7 separate regions of the Homo sapiens genome follow, and all the other regions are linked to region 2. The links are contacts of gene promoters, found by promoter capture Hi-C in blood cells and fetal thymus (Javierre and others, 2016). All regions are on one chromosome and are shown on one strand. The core of a region is centred on a gene start or on the middle of the fragment in contact, and the rest is flanking DNA. Distances in the headings are between cores, read along the strand shown.

The links. Contacts are between HindIII fragments. The CHiCAGO score rates a contact against its expected background, and 5 or more counts as called.
Region 1: a fragment that was not itself captured here is called in contact with the fragment with the promoter of RPF1 in region 2 in 1 of 17 cell types (naive B cells); the score reaches 5.3 in naive B cells.
Region 3: a fragment that was not itself captured here is called in contact with the fragment with the promoter of RPF1 in region 2 in 1 of 17 cell types (total B cells); the score reaches 5.8 in total B cells.
Region 4: a contact is called between a fragment that was not itself captured here and the fragment with the promoter of RPF1 in region 2, in 1 of 17 cell types (erythroblasts). The highest score is 5.4, in erythroblasts.
Region 5: a contact is called between a fragment that was not itself captured here and the fragment with the promoter of RPF1 in region 2, in 1 of 17 cell types (M2 macrophages). The highest score is 8.1, in M2 macrophages.
Region 6: a fragment that was not itself captured here is called in contact with the fragment with the promoter of RPF1 in region 2 in 5 of 17 cell types (M2 macrophages, naive CD4 T cells, naive CD8 T cells and 2 more); the score reaches 7.2 in M2 macrophages.
Region 7: a fragment that was not itself captured here is called in contact with the fragment with the promoter of RPF1 in region 2 in 4 of 17 cell types (total B cells, fetal thymus, naive CD8 T cells and 1 more); the score reaches 6.3 in total B cells.

What each region holds. Positions count from the first base shown.
Region 1 is chr1:83,994,067-83,997,546 of GRCh38, reverse strand. All of the region lies in intron 1 of TTLL7 (tubulin tyrosine ligase like 7), which reads left to right. Among named protein-coding and RNA genes, the nearest start is that of TTLL7, 3.3 kb to the left of the region's middle. The HindIII fragment of the contact is 4,005 bases long and covers 1-3,480 here.
Region 2 is chr1:84,477,842-84,481,427 of GRCh38, reverse strand. It overlaps RPF1 (ribosome production factor 1 homolog), which reads right to left and starts at 2,162. Exons shown (of 9, transcript NM_025065.7): 1 at 1,919-2,162; 2 at 416-472. The coding sequence starts at 2,146. RefSeq lists enhancers at 1,586-1,745, 1,941-2,501. The HindIII fragment of the contact is 6,088 bases long and covers 1-3,586 here.
Region 3 is chr1:84,070,125-84,073,697 of GRCh38, reverse strand. No RefSeq gene overlaps it. Among named protein-coding and RNA genes, the nearest start is that of PRKACB, 72 kb to the left of the region's middle. The HindIII fragment of the contact is 4,399 bases long and covers 1-3,573 here.
Region 4 is chr1:84,104,895-84,108,779 of GRCh38, reverse strand. It overlaps a transcript of PRKACB not described here. Among named protein-coding and RNA genes, the nearest start is that of PRKACB, 37 kb to the left of the region's middle. The HindIII fragment of the contact is 3,298 bases long and covers 936-3,885 here.
Region 5 is chr1:84,921,187-84,924,890 of GRCh38, reverse strand. No RefSeq gene overlaps it. Among named protein-coding and RNA genes, the nearest start is that of LPAR3, 30 kb to the right of the region's middle. The HindIII fragment of the contact is 1,949 bases long and covers 994-2,942 here.
Region 6 is chr1:84,939,038-84,942,882 of GRCh38, reverse strand. It overlaps MCOLN2 (mucolipin TRP cation channel 2), which reads left to right. Exons shown (of 14, transcript NM_153259.4): 8 at 1,892-2,004; 9 at 3,181-3,330. Among named protein-coding and RNA genes, the nearest start is that of LPAR3, 48 kb to the right of the region's middle. The HindIII fragment of the contact is 4,398 bases long and covers 1-3,553 here.
Region 7 is chr1:84,086,606-84,090,243 of GRCh38, reverse strand. It overlaps a transcript of PRKACB not described here and the pseudogene TXN2P1. Among named protein-coding and RNA genes, the nearest start is that of PRKACB, 56 kb to the left of the region's middle. The HindIII fragment of the contact is 8,490 bases long and covers 1-3,638 here.

The DNA of each region.
Region 1 (3,480 bases), core at 380-2,879, 480 kb after region 2:
TTGGACAAGCCTTGACTCTTAGTCAGTTTAGAAATATGAGTGTTGTAGTAAAATGTAGTTCTTATATAGTGGGAAACTGAATTAGTTTGTTGTTACCCTGCCGTTAAGAGTCAACAATTATATTGACCTTCTATGCTCCTTCTGTAAAAATAATGGATGCTAGGTCTTTCTTCGCCCGTTGATGGGTCCTTTGACTTGCTTTCATTAGCGACTTACAGATTTTTTCTTAAGAAATGCATCTCTTGTTTATGTCTCAAGAGGCAGGTTGCTATAGTACAGATGCTCATTATCTCTAAATACTCACATAGTATTGATGGTAGGCAGGAACAGAGTCATCTTAGTATGTCATTTCTAAAGTATTGAACCATTTGCATTGGAGAATTCTTTTTCAAGTTAACGGGGGTATTGATAAAGTCCACTGCCTAAATAAGGACATAAAATGGAGGCACAAATTTATATTTGTTGTTCAAACAAGAGTATGAGAAGTGGGGTCTTGTGAAGAGTCTTGAGTTTGATTCCTAAAAGTCATTTCATTTTGTTCTTTACATGGCTATAACCTATATCCTGAACCTTGGCAAGGCATCTTGTAATCCAATCTGTTTAATCCTAAGGGGGACAGCAGAACTGGCATGAATGAATAAGCAAAAATACAATACCACTGCTGTTAAAAAAAAAAAAAGGAAAGTGCATGTCCTGGTGATGGATGGTCAGCAGCAACATTTTAAAACAGAGACAGCACATTTTACTTAGATGACATCACTGAGAGTATGAATATAATACCAACTTGGCTTTAGAACTGCTCTCTCTCCTCTGTCCAATGACTACAGTCTGCAAACCATCTAAATTCCCCACTTCAAGGAACTTAAAGTCTAGCAGGGGAAATTTTACTTACACGTGAGTAATTAACAAATAACTTAGAATTGGCTTAATACCAGAAAAGGGTGGTGCAGACCTACTGCTATAGCGGTACCTTAAGAGAAAAGAGAAATAGTAGAGCCTTGGATGATCAGAGGATCAGGAAAGTCTTCATGGGTTGAAGTGAATTAAATCAGTCTCAGAGACTGGAAGGATTCTGATAGGCAAAGAGAAAGCCACATAAAGGTTCAGCTAAGAAGTGCTCATCTACTGTTTGGATACATGGTGAAAGATCATGAAGAAACTTGAATGTCAGACAGTGAGATCTGTTTCTGATCTGTTAATCATTTCTCTTTCTTACATTCTCCATATCTGTTGCCCCGAGTCCCCTTCCAGGAAATGGTCTGTTTCCTGGGTACTAAAAGGATTGTCAACTAAACTGAGAAAAAGTTTTCTGTGCAAGTACAATTTTTCCTCTTCCAAAGGAATTTGCCTTTTAGCTCCGGCCCCCATTAGATAATTATGAACAATTTGGAAAGTTTAAGAATATAAAAAGGAAAAAAACACCCTCATAATTTGACCAACTAAAGACAATCACTATTCATTTTTGACATGTTTCTTTCCACTTTTTTCATGCGTAGTTTTAATTATGGTATCTATATTACTTTTATATTATTTTTAAATTTAAAATTCTATAACTTTAGTTTTCATTTAATTACAACTGGCTTAATACTAGGTTTAAAATGCCTAATAGCAGGCTTAAAAATGACTACATAATTTTCCATTTGGTAGATGTATTATCATTGCCTAATTGTTCCTCATTGTCACTATTGATGACATCATAATAAACAATTATTGATGATAATAATAGCACTGTGATGAACATCTTTGTGCGTATGCTTTTTTTTGTATTTTGAATATTAGTTCCTTTGCATAGAGTCTCAGAAATAAAATTTCTGGGTTAAAGGGTATGAGGTCTTGAAGTTGCACTATTTTAAGCAAGTTTTGAAACTACTGAGTTCTTATATTAGGCCATTCTTGCATTGCTATAAATAAATACCTGAAACTAGGTAATTTATAAGAAAAGAGGTGTAATTGGCTCACAGTTCTGCAGGCTGTACTGGAAGCATGGCAGCATCTGCTTCTGGGGAGGCCTTAGGAAGCGTCCAATCATGTTGAAGGGGAAGGGGGAGCAGGCACGTCACATAGCAGAAAGCAGGAGCAAGAGAGAGAGTGAGGGGGTGGTGCCACACACTTTAAGTGACCAGATCTTGTGAGAACTCAGAGTGAGCGCTCACTTACCGCCAAAGGGATGCATTAAGCCATTCATGATGGATATGTCCCCAGGATTCAAATATTTCCCACCCCCACCTCCAACACTGGGGAATAAAATTCAACATGAGATTTGGATAGGGACCCATATCCAAACTGTATCAATTCCCAGTGTTCAATTTGGAATACTTACATGTTGATTATAGAATATTTGCATATTAATAATTCATAACACCCAATCTTGTCTGTGGCTCCTCAGATTATAGTCTTTCAAGCAACTTCTTTTGATTAGACTAAAGACTGATTAAATCATGGAGACTGGGAGAAAGGCAGGCAGTTGGTGTTACTGAGGAGAGAAGATACTAAGTTGGAGAACAGGCTTGGTGAGAGTGAGTAAGAGTTGATAGTCAGAGAAGGAGAATATGTGATAGACTACTTTCTGGTTCCAGTGTTGTATTTGTGGACTTCAGCTGTAAACCTCTGCATTCCCTCACCCACAACACACATATCTATCTCCTTCAAATTTCAGTTTATTCTATCCTCTTATATCAGATTCCCAGGTCTCCAGCTTCAGGGTCCTGATATTGCAAGGCACAGCTGTGAGCTCACTTTTGCACTCTAATTTGGGGAATTCACAAAGGTGAGAGCAGGAATTTGGGACCTCTGCTTAGGTCTGAGCAGAAGTCCTGGGCACAAGGTATAAGGTGTAAGGGAGGGACAGTTGACAGACATTAAAGACCTCTCCTGCCTCCCCTGTACATTTGCCAGAGATGACCTTTGAGAACAGTGATTGTCAGATGCATAAAGTTCCCAACATCTCTTCTCAGCATTCAGATGCTCCCCCTCCCCTTGTTCCCAGTATCCTTCCACCAGAGGAAATTCCCCTCATGCAGGAGAGAGACTGTGCTTCAGTTTCCTCTATTCATTGTAGGGATACTTGGCACTACCTTCTTGCAATGAGAAGGGCAGGGGCCCAGTGTTGGACGGGTCCTTTGGGCTCCTGACTTGCTCCTCCAGGTTCTCACCTGAGCTTCCTCACTGTCCTACCTCCACTCTCTTTCAAGGCTGGGAATCCATTGAGGTAGGCAGGCCATTAAGTGTCTATGAGAGCCAGTGGAAGCAGAGCCAAGGCAGATGAATGTGCCTGAGGGCACAACTAGGGAGCAGAGAGGCAGGTTCTTATACTATGCCATCAGTCTTGAGAGACTTGAAACAATGAAAACAAAAGCATCACATTATAAACCAAAAAGAGGATTCCCACCCCACTTTTCAGGTCCTGAAAGAGGATTTCTGATAGAAGCTGGACATTAACATAGGCAGAGTATTTTAGGCAGAATTTGTCCTGTGCTTAGT
Region 2 (3,586 bases), core at 913-3,412:
AGCTCCAGGCCTAACCTGGGGGAGCTTCCCCATTCCCAAAGTCAGGGAGAGGTGTTGACCTCTGAAACACAAAGTTATATGCAAAATACCACCACTGTGTTACCGTATAGGTACACAAACATACACAGTAAAGGTAAAAGAAGTGCATGGAAAAAATAATCAAAAATTTCACGAGTGGTTATCTTCGGAGGGAAAAGCAATTATGAAGCAGACGAGGGGCTTCCAACATTCTTTGCTAATGCATTATTTCTTAAGCTGGGTAAATGATACAAAGAGGTTTATTATATTACTTTTGTATTTCTTCATACATCTGAAATACGTAATAATAAATTTTAAAAGAAAGTAATTCAACTTAAATATCAGGAGGGATTCCCTAATATAAGATAGAAAGCAAACAGCTAAAAATTTTATTTACCTTATCGCCAAGAGCCTCTCTTTCTTTTTTAAGTTTTTTCTTAGCTGCCAACTTTTCCTAAAGGGTTAAAAAAAAAGAGAACAATACTGAGAAACAACCAGTTATATCACAAACACATACTGAAACTACAAATTACTAATGCTATGAATACTCGAACTGGGCGGTCTTTGTAATCTATTGAAATAAGCATCTGGACGTGGAGTTTTCTACCTAAATTACTGTAAGCCAAATGAGCTGGCCAATCAATAAGATTTCTTTAACAAAGACCTGCTCCTTTAAAAAAATCTAAACTGGCAAGTTTGAACATTTAAAATTTGAGTAGCTTAACCTTTTTCCATAAAGCCTCAAATTAATTAAAGTATGTGATGGTTTCCACTGTGTTTTGTTTTGCCTAACTGGTGGCATCCTAAAGACGACCATGGTTATGCTGCTTGCTTCTCTTGAAAAGCACTAAAAATAGGAATGGGAGCTGAGTTTTCAGGTTGTTTTCCATAAAACCATCACCAGTTATTCACATATTTTATAATCAAAATATACTTCTAAAATTTAGTAAGAGCTTGCAAGGTGGCTTAAGATTATCTGTATTTGTATTGTCAATCTATATATTCTTCTGGAGATTTCTAGATAGAATGCTTGACAAAATAAAAAATATTCTTTTTTCCCCAGCACCTACTGATCCTCAATCCACCAGGTTTCAGATTAGAAATCATAGCTCCAATAAGTCTTCCAGGACATCCCTCCCCAATACGTGCATACCAGAATGAGTTAAACGCCCCTTGTATGTATTGAAACAGCACCTTGACACTGAACATGAGTAAGAACCAGTCCCGGGCCTCAGAAGGGCCAGTAAGAGGAGGCAGACACATAATAATAATATTGTGTGAACTTCTACGATGTGCAAGAATAAGCAAACGTTTTCTTCCAATTGCAATTTAACCAGAAATGAGCACTGCGACCTTGACAAGTCGTTTAAACCTCTTTACGTTTCAGTTTGTTTACCTACCAGAAACGTATAAGGATAAAGCTGAAAAGAACAAATACAATTACCAGAAACTTTACAGTACTAATTTCGGTAAGGAGCTCCTGCAGGAATCAGAGAAGCAGTATTTTGGATTTATTACGTATTGCCTCCATTTCAGATTCTGCAAATTAACCAACGCTACCTAGACGGACCAAAGGGCTGAGACTTTTGCCTTCTGGGCCAGGAGGGCGTAGTTTTCACTACTAAGCCAACTGGCCTTACAGCTTTCCTTGTGAATCTAGCGTCCCAGGAAAGAGCCTATCAAGATAATCTTCCACCTTGACGCTCAGGCAAAAGGCTGAACCTAGAGTCTCCAAACTAGGGCGAGGGGACCAGAACACGTGGGCCGCGACGCCACCCTTCCCACGGAGCCACAGAGAACACTTTTGAGACCAGCAGACAACCACAGATGTGCGCCCCGCGACCGCCCTAAGCGTCAGGAACAACGCGCAAGCGCCCGGCAGCCCCCGCCTCTCGCGTACCTTCCGCTGCTGCTGTTTCCACCGCGTGAACATTAAGTGTCGCCGCTGTTTGTTTTTAATCTCCGAAATGCTAAAGCCTGGCGGAAAGGCAGCCGCTTTCGGGGGTTGGACCCCGTTTTCCGTCGCCCCATCCCCAGCGCCTGCAGCCTCCTGAAGTTCTTCGGCAGCGGCTTTCCGTTTTAGACTTTTCTTCCCGCTGCTGCTGCTCTTATCCCCGGCTTTCGCCATGGTCTTGGCTCCTTTGCTTCCGTACGGAAACGGAAATAGCCTTCTCCTGTGACCCCCTTCCTTAACCTTTTACTTCCGGGGTCGCAAAGTTTTTGACGCTAGATGTGTTTTGTGAGTTTTAGCCATTCAAGAAAATAGTAAAGCTGAGGCTTGAGGAAACTTTAGGCAGTTTGCCCAGCTGTATAAAGAGTGAGATGATGAGTTTGGGCACTCCTTGCGCATCTATGTGCCCAGCCCTCAAAATAATGGAACAACAACAAAAACCGTGCCTGGATTAGTTTACGTTTTACTTGAGGGAAACCTAAAATGAGCATACAAATAAATTATGGTGAGCTACAGAGTAAGACATGGTATGGAAAAAAAATAGAACAGGATAAAAGAAGATGAAGAGACATTCATCTTTTTGAGACGGAGCCTTGCTTTAATGCCCAGGCTGGAGTGCAGTGGCACGATCTCCGATCACTGCAAACTCCTCCTCCTGAGTAGCTGGGACTACAAACACGTGCCACCATGCCCGGCTAATTTTTGTATTTTTGCAGAGATGGAGTTTCACCATGTTGGCCAGGCTGGTCTTGTACTCTTGATTTCAGGTGATCTGTCCGCCCTGGACTCCCAAAGTACGTTGCAATTTTAAATAGGATTCTCAGAGTAGGCTTCATTGAAAACGTTACATTGAGCCAAGGTTTGAAGGAGGTAATGGGCTAAACTAGTTATCTGAGGGAAGAGCTGTTAATCTGAGAAAAGCTGGTTATCAAGGAGAAAAGCTGTCCTGGCAAAGCAAACAGCCAGCTCCAATGCTCCTAGTCAGTAGCAAGCCAGGAAAGGCAAGAAGTGTTGAGATTGGACAGGTGGTGTAGAGTTTTGTAAGGACTTTGGCTTTTATTTTATGTGAGATGAAGATCTCTTATAGAATTTTGAGGAAAAGAATGGTATGATCTTAACATCTTAAAAGTATCAGGCTGGTGCAGTGGCCCATGCCTGTAATTTTAGCACTTTGGGAGGCCAAGGCAGGAGGATTGCTTGAGCCTGGGAGTTCAAGACCAGCTTTGGCAACACTGTGAGACCCCATGTCTACAAAAAGTAAAAAAATATATATATCTGTTTGGGCATGGTGTACATCTGTGGTCCCAGCTACTCAGGAGGCTGAGGCAGTAGGATCCATTGAGCCTGGAAGGCTAGGTTGCAATGAGCCATGTTGGTGCCACTGCATTCCAGCCTGGGTGAGAGGGTGAGACCCTCTCAAAAAAATAAATAAAAATAAAGTAAAAGCGTCATTCAGAATCTTCTTTTGAGAAGAGCCTATGCAGGGGCAGGGTGTGTGGAAGAAGGGAAGAAATGATAGTGGCCTGAACCAGGGTAAGTCTTGTGTAGGTGGTTGAGAAGTGATTCCTCTGGAAGGTAAAGTTACTGATGGAACTGAAGGGAGGACATGAAAGAGTC
Region 3 (3,573 bases), core at 558-3,057, 410 kb after region 2:
AATAAATCAGTAATTATATAAGATAAATTTGTACTATAGCATAAATGTAAACAACTACTCAGGAAACATAAAAGTAAGTGCCATTAAATCATAGATAATTTAGCATTGAATTTTGATGTTTGACAGATGGGGAAGATCATTGAGAACTAAGAACAGCTTGAGCAGAGGTTTCCATGGAAATTATCCCCAGGTCATACTAGACCCGATGTTATGGAAAGATGTAGTAAGAGTTGCGACTTTCCCACTGGAATGTAAGCTATGTATGGAGGAATTTTGATTTTGTCATCACTGTATCTGCTATATCTAGCATTATGCCTCGTATATAGTAGGTACTCAATAAATATTTGCTGAATGAGTGAATAAATGAATAAATAGTAGGTTCAGATCAGATTGTATTTATTTGGGGAAACCTTAAATGCCACTTAAGAAATATAGGCTTGTTTATTATGCAATAGAGAACTTGAAGATATTTAAAGAGAGAAGTAATATAATCCCACATTTTATTAATAAGGTATCTTTAATAGTAATGTGATGGATATGTTGGAGAAACAATAGATTGGCAGCAAGATGACTATTGTAGTAGAAGAATGACAGGAAATCATTCAACAGTATATCAGTGGAAGAAAAAAGAAAGGATCCATGTCAGATACTTGAATGTTAAGATCTATAGAATTTGTTAAGTGTTAAGACTCCTTAGCATAATACAAGTGATAGAAGCCCAATTCAAACTAGCATAAGAAAAAATAAGCAGAACTTACTAGGTCACAGAACTAGAAAATTTAGGTTGGACATGGTTTTAGGATTAGATAGATCCAAGGATGGATATCTCTACATATTAATCCTTATTCTGTTCATATATTTGACTGTATTCTGCCAAACAGGCTCTCTCCACATGACAAGTTTACATCCTCCCATCTTAACAATCTAAACAATAATGCCTTTTCTTTCCCAGCATCTGTGTAGTATAAAGTTAAGTGAATATCCCTTATCCAAAATGCTTAAGACCAAAAATGTTTCCAGATTTTGGATTCTGGATTATTTGCATATACATAATGAGACATCTTGAGGATGGGATCCAAGTGCAAACACAAAATTCATTTACATTTCATGTATTCCTTATACACATCCTGAAGGTAATTTTACACAATATTTTAAATCATTTTGTGCATGAAACAAAGTTTTTAACTGCATTTTGACTTCAACCTGTCACATGAGGTCAGGTATGGGATTTTCCACTCATGGCATCATGTTGGTGCTCAAAAAGTTTGGCTTTTGGAGCATTTTTGATTTTTGGATTAGGGATCCAACCTGTATATTACACATATTGGTTCTGTATGGGTAACATTCACATTCCTATGAAGAGAGGACCCCATGGTTGACATGAAATGAGATAAGTATAATTTTCTAGAAGAAACCATCATATGGAGTAGACAAAAACGGCAGATGCCCAATATAGTGAAAAGAAAAACTTAGAGCTCTCAATCAATTTTCTATCCTGAGTGAGTGGATAATGAGATCAGGAATAAAAGGGAAAAAAACTGTTTTTTAAATTAGTGAGAGACGTGTAACTTGGGTCATACTGAGTTCGAGTTGGTAGTGGGACTTCTATATGGGGATGATGAACAGCAGGAAAATATAAAGTTAGATAAATACATGAGTTGTGGGTCATATGTTCTCAGGGCCTCCTGAGGGCTGTGTCATGGGCCATGGTCACTCATATTTGGCTCAGAATAAATCTCTTCAAAATATTGTACAGTTTGACTTTTTGTTAACAATATTTTGGCACCCAAACATGTTGGGCCTCAGAGAAGACTCAGGACCCCACAGGAGTTGCCCAAACTCAGTGCTAAGGTACCAGCAGGGGCCCACTGAAGCCTCCCTGACTTTGAGCTTCTCCTCTGGTGGAGCTCATGTGTCCTCCTGAGCCCGCACCTCCCTTTGGTTGAGGGTCCTTGATCTATTCTGAGCTGGTTTTTTTTTCTCCTAGGAAGTTGCTGTTTAAGGATCCTAATTCTAGCTCCGATCCTAATTTAATTCTAGCATTCAAAGAGTCTTCTCCATTGCTTTTCTCCCAAAATTAATCTCAATTTGGCCTGGTGCACATTTGAGTGAGGAACTGAATTGTTGTTTTCATAGGTAAATGAGAGACTGCGTTTCTTCAGCTCCAAAGAGAAAGGGTATTTGCTCCTCCCACCTGAAAAGCACCCCTGGGTGGCCAGGGGCCTCATGGGAGTGTCTGGGGTGCGGCAGCCCTACAGGGAACCCCCAACAAAATTAGTTTTAAAAAGGCTTGTCCAGGAAGCACATATAGGAGCTGATCACTCCATACTTTGAGCCCATCTGGAGGGGCTTAGATCTCCAGAGAGAAAAACTGAGACACATAAGACAGTGGCAACGACTCACTGTAGAGTCCTGCTCGCAAGCAGCAAACACTTCAATCCACTCCACAAAAGCCCTAGGCCACAGCTCAATTCCTCCTTTAAAATAAAATAAAATAAAAAGTGTGGGAAACAAATAATCTAAGAATGAGGAGAAAACAAGGAGAATAGCCTCCCTTCAAGCACTCTAGGTTTTGTGGTGCCTCTACTTGCCAGAGTTTGTGTAAAATGGAAGTAATATGGTCTTTGTGCACATTTACATTAAGGAAAAAAAGCCTTAAGATCGACCTGCAAACGACAGAGTTCCTAAGTTCTCTTTTTTTTCTATTTTCGTTTTTTCCTACTTTAAATCTGCTGTTACTTTTCCACTGAGATAAACACTGTTTGGGTCTAAGAGGTGTTTTTTTTTTTTTTTTTTTTTGGCAACCCAAGGAATTTGTATTTATCTCATGGCTAAAGTTCTGAAGTAAAAGCTATAGGGTCTTTGTGTGTGTGTGTGTGTGTGTGTGTGTGTGTGTGTGTGTGTGTGTATGTGTGTGTATTTAAAAGGTCCTTATAATTTCTATAATTTTTTGTTTAATTGGCAATTAAATCTGTTTTAACTTCCCTCTAGCACACCAGACTTTCTCTCTCAGTACCTTGAGATGTAAATTTTGCTATCTGATTTTCCCCTAAGAGTTGTTTCCTTTAATATGCAAATTTAAGGCCACTTAGCTGACAACTGCCTGAATAGTGAAACAGGTTATCAAGAATTTAAAAGCCTAAGATAGGAAAAAAAAAAAAAAAGAAAAAAGGTCTTATGAATCTATAAGATGTATTTCTATTAGCATGCACAAATATGTCTATGTATTTGTGTTGTGTACACAATGTTTCAGTACTAAAAATATATAAAACAGCTCTAGCTAATTGGCTAAAATATAAAAGCACTTAAATCGGATAATCAAAAGAAAAGACTAGTCAAATGCTTTTTCAAGTTAATGTGATTTAAGTAAAATTTTTAATAAAATAATCTGGCTTTAAAATTATTGGTAAAATAATATTAGAGATGTCTTAAAAATTGTTAGCATTTTTGATCTACTGGTTTTGTGCTCACTCCTGCAGAATTCTATAAGCCATAAGGGTTATAAAACTATAGCATTTTTGATCAAGTGGTTTTGTGCTTACTTTGGCAGAATACTATAAGCCATAAGGGTTA
Region 4 (3,885 bases), core at 1,335-3,834, 370 kb after region 2:
TATAATATGGATAGCAGGTTAGAATAATGGTTACTAGGGCAGGTTCTTAAATCAAGACTATCTGAATGTGAATCCCAGTTATGTGATCTTGGGCACATTACTTAACAACTATGGGCATCAGTTTCTCATCTGCAAATGAGGTTAATAAAAGTACACTCCTTATTGGAGGGTCTTCGGGTGGATTAAATAAACAGATTAAAGCACTTATAATGGTGTCTGGTATACAATAAGCACTATATTATTATTATAATCTCAATTTGTTAAAACTCACTTTTTTTTAGTATTTTAATTTTTATTTTAGGTTCAGGGGTACATGTGCAAGTTGGTTATATAGGGAAACTTGTGACTCAGGGGTTTGGCATACAGATTTTTTCATCACCCAGGTATACCCAATAGTTTTTCTTTTTCTTTTCTTCTTTTTCTTCTGAACCTGTCCCTCCTCCCGCCTTCCACCCTCAAGTATATCCTAGTGTCTATTGTTCCCATCTTTCTGTCCATGTGTTTTCATTATTTAGCTCCCACTTATAAGTGAGAACATGTGATAGTTGGTTTTCTGCTCCTTTGTTAGTTTACTAGAGTTAATGGCCTCCAGTTCCACCCATGTTCCCGCAAAGGACAGGATCTCACTCTTTTTCATGACTGCATAGTATTCCATGGTGTATATGTACATTTTCTTTATCCAGTCTACCATTGATGGACATTTAGGTTGACTCCATGTCTGTGCTATTGTGAATAGTGCTGCAATGAATAAACAAGTGAATGTGTCTTTATGGTAGAATGATTTCTATTCCTCAGGATATATACCTGGTGGGATTGCTGGGTCCAATGGTAGGTCTGTTTTTAGATCTTTGAGGAATTTCCACACTGCTTTCCACAATGGTTGAACTAATTTACACTCCACCAGCTGTGTAAGTGCTCCCTTTTCTCTGCAAGCTTGTCAGCATGTTATTTTTTTACTCTTTAATAATAGCCATTCTGACTGGTGTGAGATGGTATCTTGTGGTTTTGATTTGCATTTCTCTAATGATTAGTCATATTGAGCATTTTTTTCATGTTTGTTGGCCGCATGTATGTCTTCTTTTGAAAAGTGTCTGCTCATGTCCATTGTGCACATTTTAATAGGGCTGTTTGCTTTTTGTTTGTACATTTGTTTAAGTTCCCTGTAGATTCTGGATATTAGACCCAGACTAACTATACATTAGTCAGATGCATAGTTTGAAAATATTTTTGTAGGTTGTTTGTTTATTCTGTTGATAGTTTCTTTTGCTATGCAAAAGCTCTTTAAACAGGTCCCATCTGTCAACTTTTGCTATTGTTGAAATTGCTTGTGCCATTTTCGTTATGAAATTTTTGCCCGTTCTTATGTCCAAAATGGTATTTCCTAGGTTATCTTCCATGGGCTTTACAGTTTTAGGTTCTCCATTTAGGTCTTTAATTCATTTTGGGTTGATTTTTGCATATGGTATAAGGAAGGGGTCCAGTTTCAGTCTTCTGCATACAGCTAGCCAATTATCCCAGAACCATTTATTGAACAGGGAGTCCTTTCTCCATTGCTTGTTTAATCAGCCTTGTCAAACATCAGTTGGTTAAAACTGACACATATATCCATTTTATATATGTTTTAAAATATATTTTAACTTTTATTTTAGGTTCGGGGGCATATCTGTAGGTTTGTTATATAGGTAAACTTGTGACTTGGGGGTGTGGTGTACAGATTATTTTGTCACCCAGGTACTAAGCATACTACTCAACAGGTTTGGTTTTTTTGTTTGTTCATTTGTTTTCCTTTTTATCTTTCTCTTCTGAACCTCTCCCTCCTCCTGGGTGTGTGGCTTCATTTCTGGGCTCTCTATTCTGTTCCATTGGTCCATGTGTCTGTTTTTATACCAGTACTATGCTGTTTTGGTTACTGTAGCCTTATAGTACAGTTTGAAGTCAGGCAATGTGATTCTTCCAGCTTTGTTCTTTTTGCTTAGGATTGCCTTGGCTATTTGGGCTCTTTTTTGGTTTCATATGAATGGTAGAATAGTATTTTCTAGTTCTGTGAAGAATGTAATTGGTAGTTTGATAGAAATAGCATTGAATCTGTAAATTGCTTTAGGCAGTATGGCCATTTTAACCATATTGATTCTTCCTATCTAAGAGCATGGAGTGCTCTTCCACTTGTCTGTGTCATCTCTGATTTCTTTCAGCAGTGTTCTGTAATTTTCATTGTAGAGCTCTTTGACCTTGGTTAGCTGTATTCCTAGCTATTTTAACCTTTTTTGTGGGAATTGGGAATGAGATTATATTCCTGATTCGGCTCTCAGCTTGGGTGCTGTTAGTGTATAGCAATGCTACTGACTTTTGTATATTTATTTGTATCCTGAAACTTCGTTGAAGTTGTGTATCAGATCAGGGAGCTTCTGGGCAGACTATGGAGTTTTCTAGATATAGAATCATGTCATCTGCAAACAGGGATAATGTGACTTCCCCTCTTCCTATTTGAATGCCTTTTATCTTTCTCTTGCCTGATTGTTCTGGCCAGGACTTCCAACACTATGTTGACTAGGAGGAAACTCACCCATATACTTTTAAACAGGATATACAATCACCCCTTGGTATCCATGGGAGATTGGTTCCAGGGCGCCTCTGGATATCAAAATACATGAATGCTCAAGTCCCTTATGTCAAATGGCATAGTATTTGTATATAGCCTATGCACATCTTCCTGTATACTTTAAATAATCTCTAGATTACTTATAATACCTATTATACTGTAATGTAAATAGTTATTATTATTTCTACTTTATTTTTTATTATTGTTTTGTTGATTCAACATTTTTGATTCATGGCTGGTTGAATCCTTGATTGTTTGAATCTGTGGATATAGAAAGCCAACAGTATTCAAAAAATGCTAACAAGCTGGGTGTAGTGGCTTACACCTATAATCCCAGCACTTTGGGAGGCCCAGGCAGGTGGATCTCCTGAGGTCAGGAGTTCGAGATCAGCCTGACCAATACGTCAAAATCCCATCTCTCCTAAAAAGAACAAAAATTAGCTGGGCTGTGGTGGCGTGCACCTGTAATCCCAGCTACTCAAGAGGCTGAGGCAGGAGAATCACTTGAATCCGGGAGGTGGAGGTTGCAGTGAGCTGTGATCGTACCACTGCACTCCAGCCTGGGTGACAGAAGGAGACCCTGTCTCAGTAAATAAATAAATAAATAAATAAATAAATAAATAAATAAATAAATAAATGCTAACAGTGGTTATCTGTAAATGCTAGGATTCTGGTAGATTTTTCTTCTTTTCTTTTTTTCTTACATGTAGGTAATGATGAATGGAAAATTTTCACCTTCTTAATATTTTTCTGTAAATTATTGAGTTGAGAAAAATAGTTTGATATGCTTACTCTAGGTCAAAAGTCGTGGTGCCTCGATGTCAGAATGACTTTTCCATGAAAGAGGAAAGTTTCTCTCCATAACAAGGGGGTGGAAATGAATTGGATGGTCCAGAAAAAAACATCCAGAAGAGAGGAGTGACCGCAGTTGTATTCTGTTCTAGAGAATGGTCAAGAAAGAAGACTTCCAATTAACAGTGCAGTGAGAGATTCAGTTGAAAAAAAATTTTAATGTCTCATGAGGACTACATTGGTTATTTACCTTTTGGTTATTTATACAAACTATCCTGAATTGTATTTAAGAAATTTTCAGTCAGCTGTGCTCTGCTAACTAAATGCCTTTAAGAAAACGATTTTTTTTGTTTTGTTTTTAGAGAACACTCCAAGGAGAGTCCCACTTGAGACTTTTTAAGTAAAGAATGGTTCCCAGCTTTATCTCCAATTATATAATTACTCTAGAATTAAGTCAAAAAGATATGCTCACCATAACTGCCCAACTAGTAGAT
Region 5 (3,704 bases), core at 719-3,218, 440 kb before region 2:
TTTTTTTCTTTCTCTCTTTTTTTTTTTTTTTAAACAGAGTCTTGCCCTGTTGCCAGGCTAGAGTGCAGTGTCATGATCTTGGCTCACTGCATCCTTTGCCCCCCAGGTTCAAGCGAGTCCCCTGCCTCAGCCTCCTGAGTAGCTGGGACTACAGACATGCACCGCCACACCTGGCTAATTTTTTGTATTTTTTTAGTAGAGATAGGGTTTCACCATATTGGCCAGGATGGTCTTGATCTCCTGACCTCGTGTACGCCCGCCTTGGCCTGCCAAAGTGTTGGGATTATAGGCGTGAGCCACCACGCCCAACCCAAGAATTGCTATTAACATGGTGAAACCCTGTATCTACTAAAAATACAAAAATTAGCTGGGTGTGGTGGCAGGCGCCTGTAGTCCCAGATACTCAGGAGGCTGAGGCAGGAGAATCGCTTGAATCCGGGAGGCGGAGGTTGCAGCGAGCCAAGATCCGGCCACTGCACTCTAGTCTGGGTGACAAAGTGAGACTCCATCTCAAAAAAAAAAAAAAAAAAAAGCTTTCATTTGTTCTGCAGCTGTGACTGCCATTTGAATAGAAGATTAATGATGGGTTTTCATGCTCATATTATTCTTCTATTGGCTTTCATGTTTTCTTTTATTTATTTTCCCTCCAGCTGGACAAAACAGTTTTAGAAAGAAAAATGTTTTTCAGGGTTAGCTCACATCTATAGAAACATTGTTTTCTCCCTTTTTAATAATGTTAAACAATTGTCACTTTATCAACTGTATTGTTATTTGGATTTTATTGAACAATGTTGTCTCATAATTCTGCTAATAGATGCATCTGGGATAAATCATTTTCTCTCTTATCATAGGCCTCCACTTAGAGGGTTCCCTGTGAAAGTTAGGAGACACATTCTTTCTGCCTGCTGGTTTCATTCTGGGATCTCCAACCCTTGAATTTAACTCCTTGGCTTGTGGTGACACAGTCAAAACCATATACAACATCTTAAAGCTTTTTCACTTGAGCTGGTAGGAGAGAGTGTGGGCATAAGAGCCATCTAGACAGACTTGAGTTAAAATTCCAGCTTAACCTAACTTTAAGGCCCTGAACAAGTTACTTTCTTCCTCTAAGTGATGATAAACCTCAACCAAGACTGGCACTTAAGTCACATAATTTATGCAGAGCCTGGTATTGAATTCATTCCTGAGCTGTTATTTCCCTTTGATTCTCTAACATGTTTGCAATAGTTTCCATGGGACCATGGAATAATGCAGACACGACTTTGCTTCTGCAACCTGTCTGCCTCAGCTGTCCTCTTCCTACTGCTACCTGAGTCTCCTTGGACAGGTCATGCCATGCATAGATTTCCTCATCCATAAAATGGGATTATGAGGATTGAATGAGTCAAACGTAAAGTGCATAGAATAGGGCGTGACTCCTAAGTGCTCAATGACTATTAGCTCTTCAAAAAACATGTCTTACTAACATGGTCTACAAATGTACAAATCTGTTCATCTGGGCCAGCCAGGAAGATTTTTATTTTATAATGCACTCACCACACACTTCTGGTGGACTTTGTTCTAGTTAGAACTTTAAGTGTGCAAAAGTCCCCCATCCAGTCCTGTCCTGGAGGCAATGATCAGTTCAGCCCTAAGAAGCTCACACCTAGCCATAGAGGAGCAGCAAGGAGAAGCAGCCTAAATGGCTGGGGCACAGCTGTCAGTCCTGATGGAAGAGAAAAGGTCCAGGAGGTGCACAAGCTGTCACAAAGCCTCAGTCCTTCACCCTGGGTGAGACCCTCAGTCCTCTACTAGGACTACCCCCTTAACCAAACTTGTCAGAATGTATAAAATTCAGGCCCACTTCCTTCTCAACCCATTGCTGACTCAAAGTGGTGAATGCAAAAGAGTGAGAGAGGGTAGTTAGGAAAAGCTCTTCGTGCGATTCGAGGCACTGTCCCCCACTCCTGCTGAGGACCTACACTCCAACAATTGTAAAAAGGGTACACTGATCCAGTGGAAGACCACGCTTGGAATCATGGGTTTATGAAAAGCACAATAGCCCAGCCTTTTGATCTAGGGGTAGCCAGTCGCCCTCTTGTCCCTGTGGACCTTCATGTAAAAATGGCCCAGCACTGGCCGGGTGTGGTGGCTCACGCCTGTAATCCCAGCACTTTGGGAGGCCGAGGCGCATGGATCACAAGGTCAGGAGATCGAGACTATCCTGGCTAACACAGTGAAACCCCGTCTCTACTAAAAATACAAAAAAATTAGCCGGGCGTGGTGGTGGGCACCTGTAGTCCCAGCTACTCGGGAGGCTGAAGCAGGAGAATGGTGTGAACCCAGGAGGCGGAGCTTGCAGTGAGCCGAGATCGTGCCACTACACTCCAGCCTGGGTGACAGAGCAAGACTCCATCTCAAAAAAAAAAAAAAAAAAAAAAAAAAAAAATATATATATATATATATATATATACACACACACACATATGTATATATAGCCCAGCACTGTATTGATGTTCAGGGGCCTTTCTAAAGTCATTGGAAACGTATATTCAATAAACTGCCACCATGGTCTTGGCCACAGAGTTGTTTCTTGACAATATCAAGAGCTGTGATGCTTACAGGTACGATTCCAGATACCTGAACAATTCACTTGTGACAGCCACATATTGCAGTAACATTAGACGAATAGACCTCATTTTACTGCTAATCAGCTCCATTTTTATTTTCTTGTAACTTGGGCAAATTTTATTTTTGCTTTGCTTCACTTGAAGTTTGAACATTTTAACCATGTAGTCCCTCCTTGTTCACAGAGAATATGTTTCAGGACCCCCAGTACAGGCCTGAAACCCTAAACAGTACTGAATCCCATACAGGTTGAGCAACCCTAATTCGAAAATCCAAAAGCTGAAATGCTCCAAAATCTGAAACTTTTGCTGACATGACTCCACAAGTGGAAAGCTTCACAGCTGACCTCATGTGATGGGTCACAGTCAAAACTTTGTTTCATACACAAAATTATTTAAAATATTGTATGAAATTACCTTTAAGCTATGTATATAAGGTATATATGAAACATAAATGAATTTCATGTTTAGACTGGGATCCCACCCCCAAGATATCTCATTATGTATATGTTAATATTCCAAAAGCTGAAAAAATCCAAAAGCTGAAACACTTCTGTTCCCAAGCATTTTGGATAAGGGATACTCAACCTTTATATATTATGTTTTTTCCTATACATACATACCTATGATAAAGTGTAATTTATAAATTAGGCACAGTAAGAGATTAACAACAATAACAAAAAATAGAACAATTACAATAACATACTGTATTAACAATGATAATAAAATAGAACAATTATAATAACAATATACTATATTAATAAAATAGAACAATTATAACACTATACTGTAATAAAAGTTATAAGGATGTGGTCTCACAAAATATCTTACTATACTGTATTCACCCTTCTTATGATGTGAAATGATAAAATGTGTATGTGATGAAGTGAGGTGAGTGACACAGGCATTGTGACGTAACGATAGGCCACTACTGACCTTCCAATGATACATCAGAAGGGGGTCCCAGATCATTGAGCCATGGTGATGTCAATGGTTAGATGTCAGGAGCAGACGATGTTGATGACTAATGGATGAGGAGCATCTCAGCATGGACACATTGGGCAAAGGGAGGATGCACGTGCCAGGATGGATGGGATG
Region 6 (3,845 bases), core at 105-2,604, 460 kb before region 2:
AAGGCAGTGCAGGGCATCACATGGTAAGGGGGGTGAGCATACTAGCTCAAGTCTCTCTTCCTCTTCTTAAAAAGCCACTAGAGCCATTCCCTTGATAACCCATAAATCTATGAGTGGATTAATCCATTTATGAGGGCAGAGACCTCATGACCCAATCACCTTTTAAAGGCCCTCCCTCTCAATACTGTCACATTGGGGATTAAATTTCAAATGAGTTTTGGAGGAGACAAGTAACTCAAACCGTAGCAACTACCTATGGGCCCTGCTTCAGAGAGCCTGTCACTTGATGGGGAAGATGGACACTTAATGATAAAATAGTAACCACTGTAAGTGTTTGCTATTATTATTTTCCTGGGGCTGTTTCATGGGCTCTTTGTATATGAACTTGCATAATTTTCACAATAGCCCTATGATGTAGGTATTTTTTAATTCTACCCACTTTTCAGAGGAGGAAACTGAGGCACAGGGGTTAAGCAACTTCCTCAAGGCTCTACAGCTTCTGAGTACAGAGCTGAGATTCAGAGCCAGGCTGTCGGGCTCCAGAGACCATGTTCTTTCCCATTCTACACTGTCTCTGTGCTCCATGCTGTGCTGCCTTTGCAGATGTAATGAAAGGTCAGTGTCTGTTGTGCAGAGGAAAGTAAAGGAGCTCTGGGTGTGTGTAGTAACCAAGAACCATGAAAGTATATAGGAGAGGGCTAATAGAGATGAGAATTTAAGGAATTCTTTTCTGAGATGGGAGATTTTTCATTTGGAACTTGAGGCTGAAAATAAATAAGCTGAGCCATGCATGTGGGAGAAGTGCTGTTCCAGGCAGACAGATCAGCATGTGCAAAGTCCCTGAGGTGAGAGCAGGAAAGAAGGAAGATCAGTGTGGCTGTAGGGTGAAGAAGGTGGGGGTCAGGCAGAAGAGAGCTGGGCTGGGATTGGAGACACTACCGTGAAGTCTGAGAGAAACTAAGGTTAGATTCATCTCCTTCCCATACATTCTTCTTGCTGCTGTGTGCTCCAAACCAAAAATCTGATTACCACTCCCCTCCTTGCTTCTGTTCCAAGAAGTAATTTTCTCTACATACAGAGAAGGCTTATAAGATTGGCACTATGTCCTGGGAAAGTGCACAGTGAGGTTGAGAAGCAGAAGTGGGGATTCTGAGTGGTGGTGTTTTAATTTGTTTGTTCTCTTATTAATGGTGAACTTGATGTCTCTGCTTTTATGTGAAAGAACTCAGAGTAGGTCAGCAGTTTTGCCTTTTTTTGAATGGAGCCCAAATGGATCACTTTCTGTTGAATTCTATTCTACAGTAAATATTTATATATAAATTTGAGTGAATTTATTAGCAGCTCACATAGTTTTTGCTTTTGTTTTTGTTTTTTGTTTTTTGTTTTGAGACAGAATCTCGCTCTGTTGCCCAGGCTGGAGCGCAGTGGCACGATCTCGGCTCACTGCAAACTCTGCCTCCCGGCTTCATGCCATTCTTCTGCCTCAGCCTCCCAAGTAGCTGGGACTACAGGCGCCTGCCACCACACCTGGCTAATTTTTTTGTATTTTTAGTACAGACGGGGTTTCACCGTGTTAGCCAGGATGGTCTTGATCTCCTGACCTCGTGATCCGCCCACCTCAGCCTCCCAAAGTGCTGGGATTACAGGCGTGAGCCACCGTGCCTGGCCCAGCTCACATGTTTTTAAATGTATAGCTTTATATCAGGGAATGTTTTGCCTTACATATGTACTTCTGAATGAATGCGGTGTGATTTGTTTCTGATATTTACCATTTTGTTTTAACAATAGACAAAACATTTATTGTTTGAACTTCTTTTCACACTGCCATTTTGTTTGGAAATTATTCTCCGGTAAGGTGTGTTTAACATTTGAATTCTGTTTTATTCCTCAGCTCAGAAAAATGCTCAGTATGTCCTGGTGTTTGATGCATTTGTCATTGTGATTTGCTTGGCATCTCTTATTCTGTGTACAAGATCCATTGTTCTTGCTCTAAGGTTACGGAAGGTAAGAGTGTGTTCGCATTCTCTTCCTGCCCTCTTGGCCTGCGCCCTCAGTTTGCCCAAGCAGTGGACCACCGATATTGTGCACCTGCCTTTTTTGGAGACCTTTGACTAAATCAGATTCCTTTGAGTAGTTGCCCGCTATGAGGCATTCATCAGCCTGAGGTGTAGGAAGTGAGTAAAGGCTCTGAGTATGTCAAGTGGGATCAGATAATTATCCTGCTTAAAACTGAGCTGATATGTACAGATGCACAGTGGTGAACTCTCAGGCTTTTGAATGTTTCCAGAATAACAAATCCCTCTTCAATTCAGGAGTGATCTGAAGAACAGAGTAATAGCATGTGTGGGTTTCATCTTTTGTCTTCAAATCAGAGTTCATTTTGACAGGGAGGCATGGTAAATGGATTATAATGAAGCATAAAATACTTTATTCTGTTTTTAAAATAGTTTTAAAATTCTCCCCTGAGTTTCATTTTGCCTTTTTACCCTCAGGGCTCTTATGAATATATACTTCCGCTCCCCACATATCTTATTCTGGCTGTGGCGTGTGTACAAATGCACACTGGGGTCAGGGGAAATTGGAAGTCCACAGAGTACCATTTGTGGAGCAGGGACGTAGTCTGCATTTGATTTTGCCTAATCCTGACCTTTGTCAATGTCCTTTGTAAATATCCACCTTTCTTACATGCTCCCCAATCCCCTTGATATTCTGAATGCAAAGTTAAGGTCCTTTCCCTGCCAAGGTGAGGGGGCTCATATTTGGAGCACGCACTCTGGAGCCGGCCTGCCTGGACACGGATCCTGGCTTAGCCTCTCGGTGCCTCAGTTCCCTTCTCTGGGTGATAGACCTGCTCGTACCTGCTTCATTGGGTTGTTATCGGAATGGATGTGTTGGTAATATGAAAAGTATTTGGAATGTACTGTGTGTTAGCTATGACAAGAACCTGCTGGAGTTACCGCGTACGTATTTCATATTTGAGGTAACTTCACAGACAATTGAATGCTTACTCAGATTATAGGGGAAAGTGTGTGCCGTAACCTCCACTTTCGAGGTGGATCTGGCAAATTGGAAAGGCAATGCCATGTCCTTTTACAGGTGAGAGCACTGTTTTGCACTTGCCTTCTTCTTCCAGAGGGCAGTGTGGTTTGTAAGAAACGCTTCTTTAAATGTTTGCCATAGAGATTTCTAAATTTCTTCCTGGAGAAGTACAAGCGGCCTGTGTGTGACACCGACCAGTGGGAGTTCATCAACGGCTGGTATGTCCTGGTGATTATCAGCGACCTAATGACAATCATTGGCTCCATATTAAAAATGGAAATCAAAGCAAAGGTGAGGGAAGCCCATTTAAAGTCTCTGTTCTTCATCTTCTCCTGGATGGCCACAGGCATCTTAAGACGTACCATCCTTTGGAGACCACTTTGATTCTCGTGTCTTCCCTTTTCTCACACCAGCACAAGTGAGGCCTCCCCTGGCTTGGTTCCTCGTGAAGGGAAAGGAAGCCGATGTTCCATGGAACGAAACTTGGCAACAGCTCCAGAATAGTGACTAAGCTTGAAAAGATTGGTTATTTGGGCCTCATTTTTCTTTTTAAGTTGCCAAAGGAGCAGCTTATCCATAAACCAGTCCCTTCCCTGAACCTGCATGTCAAGAGCTTGTGGGGAGGATCTGTGACCATTGGGTGCTCCGACGGATGGGGTGAGGGCAGGAATGTCAGACTGCCCGCTAAAGCCTGACCCTTTGTATAACTTAGTTGATTTGATCTCCTAACTAAGCCTCAACTCCTCCTTCACCGCACTATTCTCCCGTCCATTCTCTGCTGTTGGTCAGAGGTCCCTCCAGCCACA
Region 7 (3,638 bases), core at 28-2,527, 390 kb after region 2:
ATATGACATAATATCATGACTTAGAATGAGAGAGATAATGGAGAAGTCAGAGGTATAAAGAGAGAGAAATGAAATAGAACTTGTGAAGAATGAGAGACAGAGTTGATCAGAGAAATGTGGTAAAACTGTAAAGTCATGTTGACAGCTCATTTGAGGTTGATGATAGTAAATTTCTAGTGTTCTTCTGTGCAGCTTTCTCTAGCAGTGCTTAGCTCTTGACTGAAAGCACTGAGAAAGCACATAGCTGAGTTTATCATGAGTTACATTTTTGTTAGAGAGATTTGATAAAGAGGCAGATGTGCAAAGGAATTTTGGGACCAAGTAATCTAGAATGGTTAAGAAGAAAAAATGAAAGTGAGAGGACTGATGGATAAATGGATGAGAGGTTCTGATGAAGAATGATCATAATGGGAATATTTAAAAAGCAAGCAAAAAGGAGAGGAAATTGTGATCAAAGAATCACACACATTGGTGATTCTTGAGCAGTTAATGAATATTACAAGGTCTTTGGCAAGACTAGACATCTGAATGAACAAAAGGGGAATAGGAGATAACATGGTCAAAGAACAGAGGTGCAGTGATGATAGATGAGTCATTAACATAGAATTTGAAACCATCCAGGATGAATGCAGAGCTTAGAGTATAGAGAAACATTGTGGGCCAGATGCCAAAATATTTGATGAATAAGAAGTAAGCAAGAGACTGGTAAATGACAGCAACAAGGATGAGAAACACAGTGGCACAGTTGAATGATACATGCCTTGAATAACAAATTTTTCAAAAGGTTGGGAGCATAATACTCTAGTTTTTCCTAGTCCAGTGTCTTCTTCCTACCTGCCTGAGACCAATCTCCCCATACCAACTGTGATATAATTTTGATATGTAAATGTCAAAGAAGTTACTATATACCATAAAAAGGGGGGAAAGAGGTACCCTCTTATCACATTAATCAACTATTATCCCCAAATAGTCAATACATTACTGACAAAGTTCCTGCCAATGGAGGAAAGGGAGGAGGATGTACGCTTCTACAGGAGGTTTGAATTTTTGATCCATTTAACTATCCATGATTTTAGCTTCCACCATGACATGAGCCAAGAACTGTGCCACATTCCAGAGATTAAAACACTAAACAACATAGACACTGCTTTGCCAGATCACACTGTAGTGGGTATAAGAGTTGAAAAAGCAATGTAGTACAAGTGCTACAATTATAGATGTAAATATTTCCAAAATGGACTCAAAGGAAGTTTCCATTTCAGTCAGTTTCAGTCTATTTCCCAAGATGATCTCAGAAATTCTATACTACTCCTCTATAAACTCCTATGCTACATTTTCACCCTAGTATTAATCTCAGGCACCTATGTATCATTGTATGCCTTACTATAAATATCTGTATCTGTCTCCCAATTTAAGGACAGGAACCAAGTCTTATTTTTATTTGCATCTACAGACTAGCATAGTGCCTGGTTTAAAGTAGGCGCTCAATAAGTACTGATTAAGAATGAATGAAAGACAAATAAGTGAATGTTTTGCCTGTCATTCTATGAATTGAACTATGGCTTATTCATGACCTAAAGACTACAGCCTAAAGTGAGGCTCATATTCTTCCACAGTTTAACCTGTCATGGCTCCTACTCAGAGGGAGCTGAGCTAAGATTGAAAGAGCTAAGTTACCAGTAGAGCTAGCCCCTGTAAAAGAAGTAATATCTATACCAACATGTTCTCTCAAGTTTGTGGCTCACATATAACAATGGCCTGCTGATGCTATATGGTCATCTACTTAAGAAGAATACAGTATAGAAATGGAATATTCATTTTACTAAACAGGACTCTAAACTAATATGATCACAAGAATAGTCTCTTTAATTTTCTAAGGACAAAGTCCAGATCGAGAAAACAGGCTTGTCAGAGACCTAAAGGTTTAGATTCCACAGTTATCTTACAACAAAACAAGTTTCAGATGTCCCTGAAAAGTTAACATATGAATAGAAGACAACAGTGAATATAACATTAAACTATGGCCATAGAGCCTGGGACTTTATACCTTGTTACATCAGGCCAGATAAAAAATATGGCATCTACATTGGATTTTCGAAGGCAGAACTAATACCAATTATGCTAGTGTATCAATTTAACTTATAAGAATCCCGAATTTGATTCGGAAAATTTTCTGCATAGATACATAGCATTACTGAATCTAATTCACATTACAAAAAAACACGTCCTATAATCCACTTCCTACAACATTCTCATAATTGTGCTTTTACTTGTCTAAATCTTTTACCAGACTATAAGCTACATGAAGACAACTCTTTACTCCCTATTTCACTGGCTAGGGAATAAAAATGAACTAAATGAATAAATTAATTATAGCCAATTAAAATAAAGAAATCCACTAAAAGCAATTTAAGCTATACCACCATATCGGGGAAACAATTTATTTGCATAATAGTAGTAAACCTTAGTATTAGCAAGAAGAAGACTTATCTTATAAATACTGATGATTCTTTTGGAAAGTGCTGGGGGCTAGAGAGATTATAAAACCTATCAAGAGTAAAAAAACAAGCCTCGATGGTACACACCTGCAGTCCCAGCTACGCAGGACTGCCTGAGCCCAGGAGTTTGAGTCCAGCCTGGGCAACACAGTAAAACTCTGTTTCAAAATAAATAAATAAAAATAAAAAATTATTTTAAAGAGTAAAAAAGCATTATCTAGCTTTTGAAATTGCTAAAAATACTACCTGAATTTGTAAACACATGTTTCACCTTTAAACATAAATGACTAATCAGTTAAATACATTTATTGTCTAAGCCCAGTCTATATCAAGGTTTTACGATAATTCATTTTACTTGTTCTACAGCTAGCTTTTATAAGTTTGGAAGAATAGTCCATGAGTTCTAGTGTTTCAAGTTTAGGTGAGCAATCCCAGATTTTCTGTCTATGCCACTTGATTTTATACACTTTAATCATGTAACTTTAATTTTTCTAGATTAAATGAAATATGTATATATACAGTTTATTCACACAGAATAGACTTCCCATGCTCTTACTCCTGTTAGCTGCCCTGATCTAAACTTTCTCTGGTTCTGCTATACACAAAACACCACAACTACACATAGCACATTAATGGTTTCACATAAGAATAGAATGTTTCATGTTTTATTTCCAAGACTCTGCCCTGATGGCGAACATTTTGATGGCTCCTTTACTTGTAGTAGAACATGAAAATATCTTCAAAGATCAGTACAGTGATTCATAAATTTGTCTTTTTAGGTGCAGACCCTTGCTTTATTGTCTGATTTGTTCACAGTTAAGCCCCCTGCTCAGAGGACCAACAGGCCAGTTAAGGGGCAAAGGAGGTGCCTCGAGCCTTACAGAGTCAAGGCTCTCCAGGGCTCCCCAGCCCACCACTCATTTTCTGTGCCCCCTGCCCGGGAGGCTAGCTGGGAGGGGGCTCCCTGAGGGGTGAGGATGGGCAACTACAGGGGATTTGAGTGTGGGACCCAGGGTCTGCTCTTCACAGTAGGAGGTGGGATGACTAAGTTCTTTATTACAGACCTACAAAAACCGAGAGAGTTATAAATTATTCTCACTAGTTTGGGCTTCTTTTTTCTTTTTCTTTTTACAAAACAGC